Linked DNA regions of Homo sapiens: region 2 is linked to region 1. The links are contacts of gene promoters, found by promoter capture Hi-C in human tissues and cell types (Jung and others, 2019). All regions are on one chromosome and are shown on one strand. The core of a region is centred on a gene start or on the middle of the fragment in contact, and the rest is flanking DNA. Distances in the headings are between cores, read along the strand shown.

What was found. The method cuts DNA at HindIII sites, captures the fragments that hold promoters and counts their contacts. A contact is called where the count stands out against the background at its distance.
Region 2: a contact is called between a fragment that was not itself captured here and the fragment with the promoter of C1QTNF1-AS1 in region 1, in 2 of the 25 tissues and cell types used here (mesendoderm cells and spleen).

What each region holds. Positions count from the first base shown.
Region 1 is chr17:79,026,273-79,029,094 of GRCh38, reverse strand. C1QTNF1-AS1 (C1QTNF1 antisense RNA 1) reads left to right here and starts at 1,440. Exons shown (of 3, transcript NR_040019.1): 1 at 1,440-1,719. All of the region lies in intron 1 of C1QTNF1 (C1q and TNF related 1), which reads right to left. The HindIII fragment of the contact is 4,721 bases long and covers 1-1,462 here.
Region 2 is chr17:78,832,556-78,835,377 of GRCh38, reverse strand. It overlaps USP36 (ubiquitin specific peptidase 36), which reads left to right. Exons shown (of 21, transcript NM_001385174.1): 4 at 1-98. Among named protein-coding and RNA genes, the nearest start is that of USP36, 6.8 kb to the left of the region's middle. The HindIII fragment of the contact is 6,692 bases long and covers 1-2,822 here.

The sequences.
Region 1 (2,822 bases), core at 191-2,690:
ACCGAGTGCCCACTACATGCCAGGTATGGTATGGGGTACCAGGGAAACCTGTAACCATCTTCCTTGATGCAATGTGCTAAGATATCCCTGGTGCCAGCCTGCTAGCATCTTAAAATACACCACCGGAGTTTAATTCCTTTGGATTTAGGCACAGGATCACCAGGAACACCCGCGCGTGCATGCACACACACACACACACACACACACACACCTTAAAATGTGAGGGGCTTGGGCAGTGTGGCCCATCGGATGTGCATTTTTAGGGCACTGCTTTTGTAGGGTGAAGAGACACCAGCATGCTGGCAAGCTCTGAAGAAGGGAGGAAAAGACCCATGTGCTGGGGTACAGATGATTTTTCTCTCCCGACCAGTGCCCTCTAATGGGCACAAGCAGACCTGAGCTCTGAGTTGCAAAGGAATCTAAGTTCACGCACCACACGGGGAGGACCCTCAGGACCATGGGCCTTGCCCTCATTGATATCCTTTCATGGAGGAGGGGGCTCCCCTGAATGCCAGAGGACGCAAGAGACCTGTGGTCACCCCCTAACCCACCCAGATCCTTCCATCTCTCACTTTAGATTCTTTACAAGGAGAATGGGTCTAAGCGTTTTCTGAACACACCTCTGTCCCCAGCTCTGAAGACTGGCCCCAGGAACCTGTGGGCAGAGTCAGGGGGCCCTGCCCGCCTTCTGACCTACATCTGCCTCGAACCCACCCAGGGCTGGCAGCTTTCCCAGCAGCTTCCCTGCTCCCCAGGGCAGAGGGTGGCTGTTATCCAGATGTCTTGCTGAGGGGGATGGGTACAACCCAAAGCATAGGGTTTGGGGCATTCCACCAAGTGTGGCTTTAGCCGTGGCCAAGAACAACATTTGACCCAGCACAGGGCACCAAGAACTTGACTTCCCCATGCCCCGCCTGCCTGTCTGCCTCTTCTCCTCCTCCCCTCGACTCCTGCCTCCCTGCCTGCCGTCTCCTGCTCTACTCTGTCTCGTGTCAAGGAAAATTCCTACAGGAGCCAGGGAGATGGGCAGACACCGGCCCGGCCACAGCCGTCCCGACGGCCGTCCTGGACAGGATGGGGGCCCGGGGAGGGGCCTGCAGTCTGTGCCAGCCCCATCTGAAGCTGGAGAACGGCTTAGATCCAGGGGGCCTCAGAGGCAAGATAGCAGTGCCCTGGTGTACAGTGGGGACTGTGGGGGTCCCCGTGCCCCTGCTGGAGACCATCCCCCTTTGAACCACATTCAGATGCCAAGCCCAGCTCTGGAAATCAAATGTAGGCAAGAACAGGCAGCTGGAGGGGTGCTGATTTGCCAAGAGCCACTCATATCACCCCAGCACAAGTGTCACACAGCCGTGACCTTGACAAGGACCCAGAGATAAAGATCCTTCCCACATGGCTCCGAAGCCCCTCCCTTCCTGCTCACACCGCATGCCTCTCCCAGAGAACTAGAGGCTGCAGCGGCAGCAGTTGGAGCATCTCACTGCGGGGCTCGGGAAGGAGGAAAGGAGTGAGCATGTCCTGCTCCTGCATGTCCCTGCTTAAGCTCAGGACTGGCCCTTCCAGGCCAAGGACCCCAGCATAGACCCCAGGACAGGGCCCCAAGGATCCCTGGCTCATGAGAGCGGCTTGCTGGGCTGCCCCAAGAGAGCCTGAAGGAAACACATTGTTGAGCTGAGCTGACGTCGCTGTTTCTTCCAGACTGCTCTCTAAAGTGGGCAGGTGAGTTCTTGCCCTGTATGAAGGGGTCAGGGAGATGGCAGGGTCCTGTCCAGAGAGCTGCCTTGTGCCATTTGACACCAGCAGGCCAATTTCAGCAGGTTAACAGGGGAAATGGCAACCTGTGGCCCATGAGGGAGTGCCCCCACTTGAACATCTCTAGAGGCTACTGATTGTCAGGCAGAGGTGGGATCGTCCAGGGGATGGTGTAACCTGCTACTTCTTCCTGCCCTTCCTGGTGTCCGTCACCCCCACCCCTTCCCTAAGGTTCTGGAGCCTCAGCCACAGCCCCCCCCCGCCCAGGAACAGGGACCCCTGAGGACAAGACACAAATGGGAAGCTCCAGTCCCTGCGCACAACTGTATCTATGAAATTCTTTTCATCTTTGTTTTGATGAGCAAAGTTCAATGCCAGAATATTTGGTTTATGAGTCATGCTAATTACAGCTGGGGGGAGGCACCAGGAAGAAGAACAGAAAGGAGCATGTTCCAAAAACACTCTGTTGTCCTGGTTGCCCTGAAAAGGGGGGTCACTTCCTAGGAACAAGGAGGGAACCCATGGCCTTCCTGGGACAGCTTGGGCTTTCTCTGCTCCTACTTGGGAGGACGTCCCTCGCCAGCTGGCTGCACCTGCCTGGGAGGGGCAGTGGTGTCCTGTAGCCGCACAGCGCCCACCTAGGGCTTCCTGCACCATGCTTCCTGCCTCCCTGAATGAGCTCACTGGGGACACCACCCTTGGCAACACAAGAGGAGGAGAGGGAGGCGGGAGGAGAAGTAGAGAGTCCCTGGGTAGCGGACCTGTGTCCTTCCTGCCCCTGGGCATTCTCTGTTAGCAGCTGGGAGAGAGAAGTTCCCAGCATCAGCTTGGCGAGCTGAGTGCCATGTTCCCAACACCAGATAGGAAGGTTAAAAGTATACGCCCCGGAGGCCAGGCGCGGTGGCTCACCCCTGTAATCCCAGCACTTTGGAAGGTTGAAGCGGGTGGATCACTTGAGGTCAAGAGTTTGAGACCAGCCTGACCAACAGGGTGAAACCCAGTCTCTACTAAAAATACAAAATTAGCCAGGCGTGGTGGTACACACCTCTAATCCAGCTACTTGGGAGGCT
Region 2 (2,822 bases), core at 120-2,619, 190 kb after region 1:
CCTTGGCAACACCTGCTTTCTCAATGCCACCATCCAGTGCTTGACCTACACACCACCTCTAGCCAACTACCTGCTCTCCAAGGAGCATGCTCGCAGCTGTGAGTGTGGGTTTGCAGCAGTGGGGTGGCTGTGGGTCCTCTGGATTAGATAAGCCCATGCACTTGTGGCACTGCTGCTCTCAGTCTGGGTCAAATTTAGGAGGGTAGTTCATAATGTATAGTAACTGATGAAACCTAAATTTGAATCATGCCTGCTGCAGAATGGGCCATGAAGGTGAATCGGTCAGGTGGGGCTGTGTTCGCCAAGCTTTTCTGTAAATAATTACCCAGACAGAAACGTTTTCAAAAGATACTTCCAAAATATATATATATATATATATACAAATATTATTTTTTTAGAGACAGTATCTTGCTCTGACACCCAGGCTGGAATGCAGTGGCTCCATCACAACTCGTTGTAGTCTTGAACTCCTGGGCTCACATGATCCTCCCATCTCAGCCTCCCAAAGTGCTGGGATTATAAGTGTGAGCCACCATGCCTAGCCCAATTGTTTTATGCATCTGTTGTTGTATCAGCATATCTTATGTGTATTATAAAACGTGCAGCCTGGACAACACAGCAAGATCCCATCTCTACAAAAACAAATCAAGGCCGGGCACGGTGGCTCACACCTGTGGGAGGCAGAGGTGGGCAGATCACTTGAGGTCAGGAGTTGGAGACCAGCCTGGCCAACATGGCGAAACCCGGTTTCTACTAAAAATATAAAAATTAGGCGTGATGGGGTGCACCTGTAATCCCAGCTGCTCGGGAGGCTGAAGCAGGAGAATTGCTTGAACCCAGAAGGTGGAGGTTGCAGTGAGCTGACCAAGATCATGCCGCTGCACTCCAGCCTGGGTGACAGAGCAAGACTCCATCTCACACACACAAAAAACAAATCGAAACAATTAGCTGGATGTGGTGGTGTGCTCTATTTGATTAAAATAGAGGTGAAATAAGATATAACTTACCAAAACTGAAAGAAATAGAAAGTGAAGAGTCTTTTAACTATTAAAGAAATTAAAGCATTGGTTAAAAATCTTCCCATAAAAAACCCCAAGCAGAGACAATGTTATTTCTGTGTAACTTTTTTTTTTTTTTGAGACGGACTCTGTTGCCTAGGCTGGAGTACGGTGGTGTGATCTCAGTTCACTGCAACCTCCGCCTCCTGGGTGCAAGCAATTCTCCTGTCTCAGCCTCCCAAATAGCTGGGACTATAGACGCACGCCACCACGCCTGGCTAATTTTTGTATTTTTAGTAGAGATGGGGTTTTACCATGTTGGTCAGGCTGGTCTTGAACTCGTGACCTCAGGTGATCCAACCGCCTTGGCCTCCTAAAGTGCTGGGATTACAGGTGTGAACCACTGTGCCCAGCCAATTTCTATGTAACTTTTAAGAAACAATTCCAATCCTTTACACGTTCTTCCAAAGAATAGAGGAGGAGAGAATCTTTCCCAGCTCATTCTATAAAGTTCCTATAACTCGGATAACAATAATAAGGAAAATGCGAGAAAGAAAATGGATAACCACAACTTCTTCACGAACATAGATATAAAAATTGTAGGAAAATACTACCAAATGACACAGTTTCTAAAAAACTGTAAGCAACTTATGTTTATCCTAGGAATGCAGGATGTTTTCATCGCAGAAAATCTCTAAGTAGAATTCTGGAGGGAGCAGAGCAGTTGAAAACACAGCTCAGGAGCCTGGCCTGTAGGGTTTGCTTCCCAGTTTGCCCCTTAGTAACTGTGAGTTTTTGAGAATGTCCCTGGTCTATGGAAGAATGAGACTGTCTTCCTTACAGAGTTGCGTGAGGCTCCGATAAATTCTGAGTGAGTCAAGTGCCTGGAGTAGCAGCCCGCAAAGAGGGAGTGCTATAGAAGTGACTGCTACTGGCTGGGCACGGTGGCTCACACCTGTAATCCCAGCTACTTGGGAGGCTGAGGCAGGAGAATCACTTGAACCTGGGAGGCAGAGGTTGCATTGAGCTGAGATCACACCACTGCACTTTAGCCTGGGCAACAGAACAAGATTCCGTCTCAAAAAAACATAAAAAAAAGAACACAAGATGGCCATGCAGTGGGAAGTGTTTGTAAACATCTTGCTAATTGCGATGGCTTCATAGCAGCAAAGGTTAATTATCAAGGCATAGTTGTTGAGATGAAGCAGCACATTGTTTGGGGGCGTTTTTTGGAGATGGAGTCTCGTTCTGTCGCCCAGGCTGGAGTGCAGTGGTGCAATCTCGGCTCACTGCAACCCCCGCCTCCTGTGTTCAAGAGAGTCTCCTGCCTCAGCCTCCCAAGTAGCTGGGACTGCAGGTGCCCGCCACCACGCCTGGCTAATTTTGTATTTTTAGTAGAGACGAAGTTTCACCATGTTGACCAGGCTGGTCTTGAACTCTCGACCTCAGGTGATCTGCCTGCCTCTGCCTCCGAAAGTGCTGAGATTACAGGCATGAGCCACCGTGCCCTGCAGAAGCACATTGTTGAGATGGCTAATTGTAGCCCCTATTTCCAGTGGTGACCTTGGTAATTTTGAGGTGGTTCTGGGTGGACTTTCAGTAAGATTTGACTAGATGGCTGTTGTTTTCGTCTCATGGTTTTGGCAGTAAGACTCTGCTATCCCAGGCCTGTCAGGGCTCTTCCACTGTAGAGCTGCCTTCCATTCTTGGTTTCTCTGCAGGATCTTTTTGAGCCAGTTGCCAACTTTGTGAGGATTAATTTAGTTAAAACTAGATAATATCTGTAAATCCCCGTAACCTGGCACAGGTAAGCTGCAGTTTGTT